Regions from separate parts of the Homo sapiens genome. Here regions 2, 3, 4 and 5 are each linked to region 1. The links are contacts of gene promoters, found by promoter capture Hi-C in blood cells and fetal thymus (Javierre and others, 2016). All regions are on one chromosome and are shown on one strand. Each heading gives the region's core, a stretch centred on a gene start or on the middle of the fragment in contact. The rest is flanking DNA. Distances are from core to core; before and after follow the strand shown. Region 1 holds the start of PGAM2 (phosphoglycerate mutase 2). Region 2 holds the start of CCM2 (CCM2 scaffold protein). Region 3 overlaps MYO1G (myosin IG). Region 4 overlaps ZMIZ2 (zinc finger MIZ-type containing 2). Region 5 has its middle 3.2 kb from the start of TMED4.

Region 1 (2,597 bases), core at 50-2,549:
ACTCCATAGTCCTGCACCCCTCTTTTGATTGGTCTTTCCTTTGCCCAGAGAGGGGCTCCAGAGGGAGATAGGTGGTGAAGCTCATGCAGGGATTCTGAGGACCTGATGGGGGAGGGCCCTGCGAGGGGTCCAAGCCTACATCAAGAGGAATTCAGTACCAGGGGGAGCTCCCCACCACCCCGGAAAAGGGAGAGGCCCAGAGATGGAGGTGGCTTGTCCAGGGCCCCACAGTAAGTTGGGATTTGGAGCCAGATGCTCTAAGCCCAGCCCTTCCGTTTCCTAGCTGGGTGTCCCTTGGCAGATGCCACCTTTGGAGCCTGCCCCACCTCGGGACACAGCGAGCTTCGAGTGCAGTCAGCCCCTGTGGAGTGTGTCCCAGTTACACAGAAATGGGGAAAATTTCACAAAACTAAAAAATGGCTTCTCAGCCCTCCTTTTTCAGTGAATGATGTGGAGCCCCACGCCTAGAAAGCCTGGTCCATGGGCGAGAGACTTTGCTGAGATGAGAAGCCAGCTGGGGCTGCTGCCCACCCACCCTGCCCAGGCTCCTGAAGGTGGCCTCACCTTCCAGGTGCTTGACAATGCCCCGCAGGCTGTTCCCGTGGGCTGCAATGAGCACTCGCTTGCCGGCCTTGATCTGGGGAACAATCTCCTCGTTCCAGAAGGGCAGGGCCCGGGCAATGGTGTCCTTGAGGCTCTCGCAGGTGGGGAGTTCCCCGGGCTTCAGGCCTGCGTACCGACGCTCCTGGGGGACACAGGCACGCTGCTTTCCCTCCCAAGCCAGTGGGCCCCCACCCGACTCCCCACTCTGCAGCTTCCCAGAGGCCTTCCCAGCAAAGGCAGCCCACCTTGCTAATGGAGTTGTAGTAGGGGTGCTTCTCGTCCATCGGGGGCGGCGGGATGTCGAAGGAGCGCCTCCAGATCTTCACCTGCTCCTCCCCGTGCTTGGCGGCCGTTTCTGCCTTGTTGAGGCCTGTGAGGCCCCCGTAATGCCGCTCATTGAGGCGCCAAGTGCGCACCACAGGCAGCCACATCTGGTCCGTGCCGTCCAGGATGGCCCAGAGGGTGCGGATGGCCCGCTTCAGCACTGACGTGTAGCAGATGTCAAACTCCATCTTGGCATCCTTGATGGCCTTGGCTCCCCGCTTGGCCTCCTCGGTCCCCTTTTCACTCAGCTCTGCATCGAACCAGCCACAGAAACGGTTCTCCTGGTTCCATGTGCTCTCGCCGTGCCGGACCATCACGAGGCGGTGAGTGGCCATGGTGGCAGCAGGGACCACAGAGGACTCTGGACGGGGACGGCTGCTTCCCAACACTCCCAGCTTTATAATAGTGTCTTCCCAGCCCCCACCCACCCCAGCCAACTGCCAATCAGCATTCCAGGCGGTGGCAGGTGACCAGTAGCTGAGCTGCTGGGGGCTGGGGGCCAGGGGAGTGTGCAGGCCAAGAGGCTGTGCTTAAAATAGCCCCACGCATCCACCAGCTCCTGGCCTGGGTTCAGGTGGCATGTCTATAACCAGCTGGCACCCAGAGCCCAGACTGAGTGGGGCTGCTGGTCAGGGATGGGCGTGAAGGGCAGAAGTCTGGGCCAGGGGAGATGGGGATAGCAGGGACAGAGGGGCTCTCCAGGGCAACGCTCAGTGGCCTATCAGCCATTCTCTGCTCAGACAGAGGCACAAACAAAATCCCAACCCCTTTCTCCTGTGATTGGCAGCCAGGCTAGGAGGCGGCCCTCAGCAGGCAGAGGAGGAGAGCCAGAGGAGCTGGTGCAGACCACAGCTTTGTGGAGAGGAGTCTGGCCTTGTGGAAGGTACCAGGCAGCAGCAGCAGAATGGGCAAGGGCTGGGGCTGAGCCGGGTTTCCAGGACAAAGGGGGAAAGGGCCCCTGTCTTTCCTCCGGGGTCCCTTTGTCAAGGTCTCATCCATACATGCCCCATGCTCCCACCCTATCTGCCCTCACCCAAGCCACGCTCACTCTCCTAGCCGAAACCACCTTGAAAAAGAGAAATCCAAGGGGGTTTGGGGGCAGGACTGAGGACTGTCAGAAGTCTTGATTGTTAGGTAAATGCTCAGCTTAGCAGGAACCCACAACGTAGGCTGAAGGGTGGCACGGAGTTGAGTCTAGGACCAAGACTTCTGCATTCAGGTTTGGGGGATGAGAGCCACCAAGGCAGGGAAGAGACTATGAGCAATAAAGTCACAATTGGGGCCCTAATGAAGGGGCCATGGCCAGACCCTTGGGCATGGGCCCCATCCAGGGCCTCCCATTTCCTCCCACCCCAGTGACCACACTGTCACCTGCGACACTTCTGATAACAGGAGCGGGTAGGTGAGAGGCCAGCAGAGGGACCACCACTCTGAGACTTGGATCTGAGTGTGCAAGAAACCCTCGACAGGCCTCCCTCCATCCCTGCTGGCCTACCTGGGGAGGGGCTCCTGGCTTGGGGCCTGTGAAGCTAAGGCTCTGTACCCAAAGGTTGGCAGACAAGTCCCAGTGGGCAAAGTCCTGTCGGCTGCCAGGACCCCCAAGGCTGGCAGGTGGAACCCATCCCTCCTAGCAGTGCCATGCGCAGGTCTCACTGTTCCACACTGATCCT
Region 2 (2,597 bases), core at 26-2,525, 930 kb after region 1:
TTTAATATAAAGAATTATTAGGCCGGGCGCGGTGGCTCACGCCTGTAATCCCAGCACTTTGGGAGGCCGAGGTGGGCGGATCACCAGGTCAGGAGATCCAGACCATGGTGAAACCCCGTCTCTACTAAAAATACAAAAATTAGCCAGGTGTGGTGGCTGGCGCCTGTAGTCCCAGCTACTCGGGAGGCTGAGGCAGGAGAACGGCGTGAACCCGCGAGGCAGAGCTTGCAGTGAGCCGAGATCCACGCCACTGGCACTCCAGCCTGGGCGACAGAGCAAGGCTCCGTCTCAAAAAAAAAAAAAAACCACCAAAAAAACACAGTTTACATTCTAGCTGTGCTACAAAGTTCTTACCGGCAGATTGGTTTAGTGGCAAAATAGCAGACCTGCTGGTGACTCCAATTTGTAGTGTGCTTTTGGGCGAATCACCTCATTCCCCGGACCTCATCTGGAAAATGTGGAAATTATACCGGATGACTGGTAAGGTTCTACGATTTTATTCTGATAGGGTCTGCACATCCTTGTGGTTGCACTTCTATTTTCCAAATGTGTTTGTCTAAGGCAGGCAGACTTTATAACAGAGAAGTACTAGAAAACGGATTCCCTGTGGCTCAGGGAATAAAGTGGGACACAAGAAAAAAGAAAACCGCACCGCACCCAGACTCTCGGCGGGACGCCCCGCCCCTCAACAGTGGCCGCCTCCTCGCGCCCCTCCTTCGCCATCTGCCGGCCGCGTCCCCTCCCGCCGGCCCCCGTCCCCCGTCCCCCGCCCCCCGTCCCCTTTTCAGAGACCTGAGCTCCGCCTCCCTGGACGCGAGGCAGGCTGGGAAGTCGGCCGCCGTAAAGATGGCGGCAAATTGAAAAAGTTGGAGCTGCTCCCGCGCGCGCTCCCGCGCGCGCTGAGTGGGCGGAGCGAACAGGGGGCTGGACAGGTGCGTTCTCGCGGCCGTGCAGAAGCGAAGTAGGGGTAGGAGCGTTTCCGGCTCTCCTGAAGGACGCGGGGCGGGGTGGGGGTGGTGCAAGGCAGGCGCGTTCTCGGCCGTCCTGAAGGGGCAGGATCTTCAGCCTGTGGGCGGTGCTCTCGCCGTGAGCGGGGCCAACGGGCCGTGTTCTCCCTGAAGGGGCGGGGTCTGATCGCTGCGGGTCGGATTCCCTTGGGCCTGAAAGTGAGGATGAGCGACAACCGTGGGCGGGGCCTGCGCTGGGGAAGGTGGGGCCTGGGCGGGGCGGAGGGGGCTCGGGCCCGGAAGTGCGGGTGTGGGGCGCGGCCGGGGCGGAGACTTCGGGCCCGGCTGGCGGGCGGCGCCGGGAGCGCGGGGGCGGCGGGCCCGGGTCGAGCATGTAGCGGCTGCTGGCGGCGGGGCTCCCGGGGCGGGCCGGGCGGGCCGCGGGAGCCGCACGCGGCGATATGGAAGAGGAGGGCAAGAAGGGCAAGAAGGTGAGCGTGCGCGGGGGCGTCCTACTGCTGTGGTCGGCGGGCGGCTGGGTTGAGGGGCCAGGGTGGGGTGGGCGGGTGTTCCTTGGGGCCCGGGGGGGGGGGCAGTGGGCCAGCTGGCGGGGCGGGGCGGGGCAGGGCGAGACCCCGGACAATGGTCAGGTGGGCTTTCGCGGCCGGGCGGGCAGGAAGCGCCGCGCCTTTCCTCTGGCCCGGGCAGCGGCTCGCCCCGACCTCGGCCCCAGACGGCCTTCCCTGCGCGTCGGGACCTGGGGCTGCAGAGGAAGTGGGCCCGGCGAGGGGCCAGAAAGCTGTCCAGGGCTGGAACTGGAGCTAGTGGGCTGTGTGGTTAACGTGGAGACGTTTGCTGCTCACTGGACTTCGTTTTTGGATATCCAGTAAAAGCAAGGGTGGCCTTCACCTTATGGCCAGCTCACTCGTCCACTATCACTCAGACCTAAAACCATTGATTGATTTTAGTGACGCTAGCTACATTTGGCAGTGGGATTTAGGACATAGTTCATAGTCAAACCCCAGTTTATGTAGTTTTACAAAATGTGGCTTTAATTACAGTAAAGGGTTATAGTAGTCGATAAAGAAACATTTTAAGACTGGAAAAACGATGTGGATTGAACTACCATTAAAGTGGAAAATGGATTTTAATAAAATGTATCTTTTTCAAATAAATGCTTTATAATCTTCACGTCTTGGCTATCATTTTCTTTTTGATGTGTGTGTGCGCACTTTTATCCACAAGTTTAAAGCAGACCTCGATAATTCCTAACTATGATTTTACTACCCTGAACTCTGCAGGGAAGTGTCCTTTAATTGACAGCTACTCACCACCTTGTTTGACAGAGTGCCCCATTTAAAAGTCCTGTTTGAAATAGAATGTAGCCAGGTGGCCTTCAGGGAGTCCTGTGGTGCTGGTTCTCTACTTTCTCAACTCATTGTTTCATGTTAGCACCATGCATGTCTAATTTAGGTGCAGTATAATTTGCGGTTATCTACAAAGATGTTTTAAGTCTGGAAAATAGCTCAAGATAGTGATTCAGCCTGCAGGTGTTAGATTAGAGATGCGTGCTGCGCACAGAAGAGGGAGGAGCCAAGCAGTGTAAAAGGAGTTAGCTGGAAAGGAGAGGTGCTAACCCGGTGGCTGCTT
Region 3 (2,597 bases), core at 37-2,536, 900 kb after region 1:
TCAGCCCTCAAGACCCCGCTCAGATGCAGAATCCCCTTACTTCCCAGCCCTAATGGGCCTCCCCCTGCAGGCTGCAGCCCTGGACCTTGAATGCCCACCACAGTACCCAAGATGGTCAGGGCTCTGCACCAACTGTGGGACATGAGCAGTCAGCTAATGTGGCATAGCATCCACCTTCCCACCTATCAAGGGGGCTGGTGTATCTCCCATCCAGGCACTGCAGGCCCGGGATGATGGGTTAAGGTATTCAGTGGATGCCAGCTGAATGGAATGTGTGGTGGGCTGAGAGTAGTACCTGCAGAAGAGTGCGTGGCAGGTGTCCTGGAAGGGCTGCAGCACAGCAGGGGGCAGCGGCCACACAAGGTCACGCCCGTAGAGTGGCGGCTGCCTTGCAGCCTGGAATCGCCGCTGCAGCTCAGCCAGGTGAGCCCGCACCTTGTGTCTCCGGAACCAGCGCATGATGGTGTAGATAGCCCTCAGCCTCCGGCAGCGCCACCTCGCCAAGGTGCCCCGCCATGCCTGGGTGGGCCAGGTGGGATGGGATACGCAGTCAAATTCAATCAGGCCCTAACCCTTAGACCCAAACCTGGCCCTGAGCATTTATTGAGCACTCCCTGGCCTGTCTCCATCAAGCAGAGACTCCTGTGAAACTTACAAGTGTGTTTGTGGCCCCTGGGACACAAGCTTTCCCCACCTCCATAGTGGATGTCTTCCTGCCCCGCCCACCTCACCTTCTGCAATAGCAGCACAATGATGGGGATGAGGCGGGCTCGGCTCTGCTCCAGTGTGACCAGTGTCCGGGGTGAGCGGATGAACAGCTTGCTGTGGCCAAAGGCCACGTCCCCCTGCAGCCCGTGCTGCTCCAGGAGAGCGCTCACGGCTGCCTTGTCGGAGCCCAGCAGGTGGTTGGGCCATGTGTATTCACAGGTCATCTTGTACCTGTCACCACAGGACAGGGCAGTGTGGCCCAGGCCTGGGGGAGAGATGATGGAGCCCACCCTGCCCACCCCACACCTGGGGAGATGGCAGGGATACAGAGTGTGTTCCTGGAGCACTTATGACACCTGTGCACATATGTCTTCCCATACACATGTCCTCACATACATGTCCTCACACAGCCCTCATACCCATGTTCCCACCTGTATGTCCCCACATGCATGTGCTCACACACATGTCTTCCCAGATATTTTGGTGTCTTGAGGCCAGCAGCGTGCTGGTTCCTGCTTGTATCGATGTTTGCGACGTGCTGTTTGGGGACCCTCTGCTCCTACCCCTTGGACTCCACACAGGGACTATGGCCCATGGAGTGATGGGTGTCAGGTGCCAGTACCTGAGCAGGAATCGAGAGTAGGGCTGGCGGGAAGCGAAGCCAGCCCTGCGGACCCTCACATTCTCCAGCAGCCCCAGGTATGCGACCTGGTGGCGACAGTGGTTCTCATCCAGCTTCCCAGCTACCTTGTCCTCATTGGGCTTGATGCAGCGGACGTAGAAGGGCTCCTGCAGGGACAGAGGGGACTTGGAGAGGGTCTGCGCCAGCAGCACTGTGCACCCTGCCCCACACCAGGGGCTTCCTAACCCCTCAAGGTCCCAGGCCAGGAGAAGAGTTGGGAACAAAGAAGGGAAATCAGCAGAACAAGGGCCCTGGAAGCCCTAAGTGCTGGGCAGAGGCCAGCAAGGCCAGGTTCAGAGCCAGGTTCCAGCCCCTGGTCGGGGGGTGGGGAGGTGGGCGTGGCAGGGGCAGGAGCAGGCCTCGCCCCATCTGCCTTCCTTCTCTCCTTCCAAAAGGGGCTGACATCTCTGGATGTTCTGTAGTTAAGCTCACCCTAACATGTCCTCTCCCTGACCCTTCACCTGTTCCTCTTCTGACTTTTGACCCAAAGCTCCCCAAGAAAGCTTGTGCCAGTTTCCTGTCTCTCTGGCCCCACCTGCCAGAAGAATCCTGGGTTTTTGCCAAGAGCTGGGCTGGGCCAAGCCAGCCTCTCAGCAGGGTCTCCCCAAACCCCTCCCTGTTCAAGAGACAATGGGGCGAGGAGAAGCCTGGGTTCCCCATGATTGATCAAGCCTCAGCCCAGCCCCTGAGGCCCCACATCTCACCTGTGCAGTGGGTGGGGTCCACTGCTGGAGCAGATGTGGCTCATACAGACAGGACAAGAACCCTCTCCCCACCACTATGATGTACAGAGGTGGTTGGGACCCTACTTGGCACCGAGGGCACAGAGAGAAGGATCCGGAACAGCCAGAGTGGGAGAGGGGTGGAACATACCTTGGAGGCAAGGTTCTCCACCAGGGCCACCATGGAGTTCTTGAAGAGTGTGCCAGCCGTCAGGGGGCGCTTGGTCACCTCTGTGATGTCCTGCTGCCCGTCCGGCCACATGGCCCGTAGAGTGGGGTCCGTGCTGCAGACACAGGCCGAATTCCCAGCCATCCTCTGGGAGAGCAGCCCCACCCACCCACGTCCTGACGCTAGTCAATGCCTGACCCCAGAGTCTCTGGGGCCCCAGGGCCCTGGCCCTCCCTATGGTGCCCAGCAAGCCGTGCTCACCTGTTGTACAGCAGCCGCTTGAAGTCCTGGAAGAGGAAATCTCTGTTCTTGTCGA
Region 4 (2,597 bases), core at 64-2,563, 700 kb after region 1:
ACTCCCTCTTGGTGGGCCTGGCCGAGTCCCTCCTTTGTGCTCCCAGGGACTATTTTCTCCTCGTAAGCCAGCGACCTGCCTAAAGCTTGGGCTGTGCCTGCAAAGCTTGTGCAGGACCTGGGGGCCAGGTCGACCTTCAAGTGGCTTTTGGGGCCCCAGGTTGAGCTCTGGATGTTTCAAGCCAAGGCTCGGCTATTCCCGCCCCATAGTAAATTTCCTTTTCCCTGGAATTTTCCAAGTTGGCTTCAGCTGAAGAGCTGTTTTGTGAAGCATCCCAGGCTTGCCCAGGAGAGACATTTGCCACTATGTCACCTTATCTGGGCTTGCCCTGGGGCACTGAGACAGTTGTTTGGCAGCCCCAGCCCAGCCAGGGGCTCATCCTTCTCAGCTCTTGTCCCTGGGAGGCCTCTGCTTGTCACTTCCCAGAGATTGCAGAGGTGTGTCCTGCCTACCATCTGCCTGTCCAGCTTGGTGGGGGTCCGGGTCACCATTTCCTCCAGTCCTGGGCCCCATCCTTGAGGGCCTTCCCAGCCAGCCAGCAGGAGAGGCAAGAACTGGGGGAACACAGGAACCTAGGGGAGGAGGGGAGCGCTGGGCATCCTCAGGCTGGCGGCCAAGGCCTGCCCCTGGAGGCACTAGAGGAGGGCATCTGTCTGTGGGAGCCCAGAGGCTGCAGGGAGGAGGAGGAGGGAGGTATCTGGTGTGAGCGTTGCCCCTGCGACATTTGGGACCACACAGGTGGGCTTCCTTATTCCCTGACAAAGCCTCTGTTTCCAGCTCTTCCGCCCTCTCTGGATGAGGGAACAGAAGTGGAGGAAACAAAAGAAGCAGCAGCACGCACAGTCCTGTCGCTGGGTGCGGAGACAGCCTGGCAAAGTCCCACTCAGCCATGGCCTGATGCAGGCCCCAGGCCCTCCTTTCTTGGGTGTCAAATGACTGTGTCCTGGACATCTGATGCACCACCTGCCCTGCCTGTTGCAAACGTGATGCTCCCGGATGGAGTGGAGAAACTAGGAGACTGGGACAAGCAAAAGGCTGCAAACAACCCAGAAGCCCATCCTCAGAAGACTGGAGAAATGATTGAGGAATGCATGGGCACCGTGGCCCTGTGCTCCATCACAAACACCTCTCAGAAACAACGTGGGATGAAAAAGCAAGACAGTTCATACAGTATGATGCCATTTTTATAAAGCTCAAAACCAAATATGTGTGGAATTCATACCCAGGTGCTAAAGTCATCAGGGAGGGCAGGGAGTCAGTACAACACAGTGCTCACCCGTGGGGAGGGGACGGAGCTGTGCTTAGGGAAGAGCAGAGATGCTGGAGGTTTTGAACCTCAGGGTCAGTGGTGGCTTCGTGGGTTTCACTTTGTCGTACTTTCTGTTTCACACATTTTCTTGTGAATGTGCCAAGTATTACATAAAAACCAAAAGGCTGACCAGACTTAACAGTGCTCCACCCAATAGCAGCAGAACACACGTTTCTAAGTGCACAGGGAACGTTCTCCAGGACAGACCACACGTTAGTGCACAAAGCAAGTCTCAGTAAATTAGAGATCGGAATCCTGCAAACCACCTTCTCCAATCACAATGGAATAAAACCAGAAATCCATACCAGAAGGAAAATGAAAATTCACACATACATAGAAATTGAACACACTTTTTAACAGCCAAAGGGTCAAAGGAGAAATCACGAGAAAAATTAGGAAATAGAGATGGATGAAAACAACATACCAGAACTTAAGGAATGCGGCAAAAACTGCTCTGAGGGAAATTTATAGCTGCAAATGCCAACATTTAAAAAGATGCGACATCTTGGCTGGGTGTGGTGGCTCACGCCTGTAATCGCGGCACTTTGGGAGGCCGAGGCAGGCAGATCACCTGAGGTCAGAAGTTCGAGACCAACCTGGCCAAAGTGGTGAAACCCTGTCTCTACTAAAAACACAAAAATTAGCCAGGCGTGGTGGCTCACACCTGTAATCCCAGCTATTCACGAGGCTGAGGCAGGAAAATCACTTGAACCCAGGAGGCAGAGGTTGCAGTGAGCTGAGATCATGCCATTGCACTCCAGCTTGGGTGACAGAGTGAGACTCTGTCTCAAAACAACAACAAAAAAATTCCTAGAAAGATACAAATGACCAAAATTGTCCCAGGAAAAATAGAAAATCTGAACAGGGCCAGGTGCAGTGGCTCACACCTGTGATCCCAGCACTTGGGGAGAACTAGTTAGGAGGATGGCCTGAGGCCAGGAGTTCGAGACCAGCCTGGGCAACAGAGACCCTGCCTCGACAAAATCTTTAGAAATCAACCAGGTGTCATGGCACGTGCCTGTAGCCCCAGCTACTTGGGAGGCTGAAGCAGGAGGATAGCTAGAGCCCAGGAGTTCAAAGCTGCAACGACCTATGACAGCACCACTGCACTCCAGCCAGGAATGAGGCAGAGACAGAGACCTGACCTCAAAAAAAGAAGAAAAAGGAAAAAATCTGAACCAACCTAAAACACATAGGTAGAACCAGTCATCAAAAGCTTCCCAACAAAAGAAAAGCCCAGGACCAGATGGTGAATTCTACCAAATGCTAAAGAATGGACATAAATCCC
Region 5 (2,597 bases), core at 27-2,526, 520 kb after region 1:
AACAAACAAAAACAGGGCCGGGCGCAGTGGCTCACACCTGTAATCCCAGCACTTTGGGAGGCCAAGGTGGGCAGATCACGAGGTCAGGAGTTCGAGACCAGCCTGGCCAATATGGTGAAACCCTACCTCTACCAAAAATACAAAAATTAGCTGGGTGTGGTGGTGCTCACCTGTAGTCCCAGCTACTTGGGAGACTGAGGCAGAAGAATCGCTTGAACCCAGGAGGCAGAGGTTGCAGTGAGCCGAGATCATGCCACTGCACTCCAGCCTGGGTGAGAGAGAGACTCGTGTCCAAAAAAAAAAAAACAAACCATATAACAACATATATATATATTATACATATTATATATATATTATATATATAAATTTCCCCTCTCTTTTTGTTGTTTGTTATTCATGGCATTTACTTATTGAAGAAACTGGGTCATTTGACCAACAGAATTTTCCACTTTCTGGGTTTTGCTGATTGTATCTTCAGGTGTCATTTAACGTTTTTTGTCCCTGGTATGTCCTGTAATCACAGTTAATTCTAGAGTCAGGGGAGGTTTACAGTGAAACTAATGAAGCTTAATCTTCAGGCCCTCCCTTGCATAGACCCCCGTACCTAATTTCGCATTTATAATTTTGTGTCTTTTTCTTAAAGAGGACTGTGAAATTTGTATAGTTTAAGGCCCCACAAAGCTTGGATTTGCCCCTGGCTAGAAGCTTCATTAGGTTTAGGTGTAATGTTGAGGTTTGGGTTTTTTTGTTTTGTTTTGTTTGCAATAACGCTTCGTGGCTGGCACTATGTACTTCTACTGAGGCACAAGGCGGGTTTGTCTCTTAGTAATATTGTAATTCATCTCTCAATTTGGGGGTTGTCATCCTGATTATCCATGAAGTTTACCATCAGCCTTTCTTCTAATAGTCTAGCAAACGTTGATGATCATTAGACCATTGGTTCTCAACGAGGGTTGATTCTGCCCTGTCCTACCAAGGGGAAATTTGGCAATGTCTGGAGATATTTTGGATTGTTGCAACTGGGTGGGGGGTGGCGGGTGGTACTGCTGTTATCTAGAAAATGAATGCAAGGAATACTGCTAAACATTGTATAATTCACAGAGCACACCTCCCCCCCACAGCGAAGAATTATCCAGCTCAAAATGTCAGTAGTACCCAGGTTGAGAAACCCTAGTGTAGTTTTATGATGTTCCTTAGGTGTGCAAAGTGGTAATTTCAAATGCTCTCATTTCTCCTGCATTTATAAGATGAGATTCTTCTACAAAGGTGAGCATTCCCTCATCTCTCTGGTTACTTTGAAATACAATCCATTCGGGATAGCCAGGATGTATGCTTGATGCTTTCCCACGCACAGTGGCTCTGCCTATAATCCCAGCACTTTGGGGGGCCAAGACAGGAGGACTGCTTGAGCCCAGGAAATGGCAAGATCTTTACAAAATATGTAAAAATTAGACAGGCATGGTGATGCATGCCTGTAATTCCCGCTACTTAGGAGGCTGAGGCAGGGAAATGGCTGGAGCCCAGGAGGTTGAGGATACAGTGAGCCGTGATGGGACGACAGCACTCTAGCATGGGTGACTGAGTGAGACCTTGTCTCAAATAATAGTAATAATAATAAAGATGGATGGATGGATGCCCCAGCAACCTCTAACTGTGACCACTTTGGGTTCTTTGGGGAGAAGGGGCAGTGCTATCATGAATTGATGGATGTTTAGATATTTGATGTGCTTTAATCCATTACAGTCATTGTCCTTTTTTAAATGTTCAGATTGTCTCATCAAATATTTAGTTGCTGCTGTGTCCTTCTGGCACAATCCTAGTAATCCACAATCCTAGTAGTCTTTAGGTCAAGCTTGTCCAACCTGTGGCCCATGCAGCCCAACACAAATTCATAAACTTTCTAAAAACATTATGAGATTTTTTTTTTTTTAGCTCATCAGCTATTGTTAGTGTATTTTATGTGTGGCCCAAGACAATTCTTCTTCTTCCAGTGTGGCCCAGGAAAGCCAAAAGATTGGACACCCTGGACTTCCTTGCTTTCCGTTTTATACATTTACTGCCCAGAAACAAAACCAACCATTTCTCCAAGGAACCCTAATTCACTTTAGTGAGAAATGGTATTTGTATTGGCAAACTTATTTTCTTTCTTTTTTTTTTTTTTTTTAAGGAGGATCCTGAAATTTGTCTTAACTGAGAGATAATATTAAAGAGATTGTATTCTCCACTGCAGAAAATTTAACTTAGGAGGTGAGGCACTGTGGCTCATGCCTGTAATCCCAGCATTTGGGAGGCCGAGGCAGGAAGATCGCTTGAGTCCAGAAGTTCAAGACCAGTCTGGGCTACATGGTGACACCCTGTCTCTACCAAAAAAAAAATTAGCTGGGCATGGTGGCATGGGCCTGTAGTCCCAACTACTCGGGAGGCTGAGGTGGGAGGATTGCTTGACCCCCAGGAGGTTGAGGCTGCAGTGAGCTGTGATGGTGCTGCTGCACTCCAGCCTGGGCAACAGAGTGAGACCCCATCTCCAAAAAAGAAAGAAAATTTAACTTAGGGAGTCTAATTCCCCAGATGAGAGATTTTTCTGCTCAGAAGCCATG

Evidence for each region. Contacts are between HindIII fragments. The CHiCAGO score rates a contact against its expected background, and 5 or more counts as called.
Region 2: a contact is called between the fragment with the promoter of CCM2 here and the fragment with the promoter of PGAM2 in region 1, in 1 of 17 cell types (neutrophils). The highest score is 6.6, in neutrophils.
Region 3: a fragment that was not itself captured here is called in contact with the fragment with the promoter of PGAM2 in region 1 in 2 of 17 cell types (monocytes and non-activated CD4 T cells); the score reaches 6.8 in monocytes.
Region 4: a contact is called between a fragment that was not itself captured here and the fragment with the promoter of PGAM2 in region 1, in 1 of 17 cell types (M0 macrophages). The highest score is 5.7, in M0 macrophages.
Region 5: a contact is called between a fragment that was not itself captured here and the fragment with the promoter of PGAM2 in region 1, in 2 of 17 cell types (non-activated CD4 T cells and M1 macrophages). The highest score is 5.7, in non-activated CD4 T cells.

Annotation. Positions count from the first base shown.
Region 1 is chr7:44,064,268-44,066,864 of GRCh38, forward strand. PGAM2 (phosphoglycerate mutase 2) reads right to left here and starts at 1,300. Exons shown (of 3, transcript NM_000290.4): 1 at 849-1,300; 2 at 565-745. The coding sequence starts at 1,262. DBNL (drebrin like) reads left to right here. Exons shown (of 13, transcript NM_001014436.3): 13 at 1-2,597. RefSeq lists enhancers at 637-696, 887-936, 997-1,066 and a silencer at 2,247-2,316. The HindIII fragment of the contact is 4,752 bases long and covers 1-2,597 here.
Region 2 is chr7:44,998,926-45,001,522 of GRCh38, forward strand. It overlaps CCM2 (CCM2 scaffold protein), which reads left to right and starts at 1,276. Exons shown (of 10, transcript NM_031443.4): 1 at 1,276-1,438. The coding sequence starts at 1,409. LOC102723334 (a long non-coding RNA gene) reads right to left here and starts at 1,083. Exons shown (of 4, transcript XR_428139.4): 1 at 793-1,083; 2 at 355-448. RefSeq lists silencers at 543-592, 1,223-1,752. The HindIII fragment of the contact is 6,187 bases long and covers 1-2,597 here.
Region 3 is chr7:44,965,342-44,967,938 of GRCh38, forward strand. It overlaps MYO1G (myosin IG), which reads right to left. Exons shown (of 22, transcript NM_033054.3): 13 at 2,543-2,597; 14 at 2,264-2,396; 15 at 1,331-1,497; 16 at 732-939; 17 at 296-519. Among named protein-coding and RNA genes, the nearest start is that of MYO1G, 12 kb to the right of the region's middle. RefSeq lists an enhancer at 717-816. The HindIII fragment of the contact is 1,209 bases long and covers 683-1,891 here.
Region 4 is chr7:44,768,678-44,771,274 of GRCh38, forward strand. ZMIZ2 (zinc finger MIZ-type containing 2) reads left to right here. Exons shown (of 19, transcript NM_031449.4): 19 at 1-1,204. Among named protein-coding and RNA genes, the nearest start is that of ZMIZ2, 21 kb to the left of the region's middle. The HindIII fragment of the contact is 2,420 bases long and covers 104-2,523 here.
Region 5 is chr7:44,584,173-44,586,769 of GRCh38, forward strand. No RefSeq gene overlaps it. Among named protein-coding and RNA genes, the nearest start is that of TMED4, 3.2 kb to the left of the region's middle. The HindIII fragment of the contact is 1,147 bases long and covers 704-1,850 here.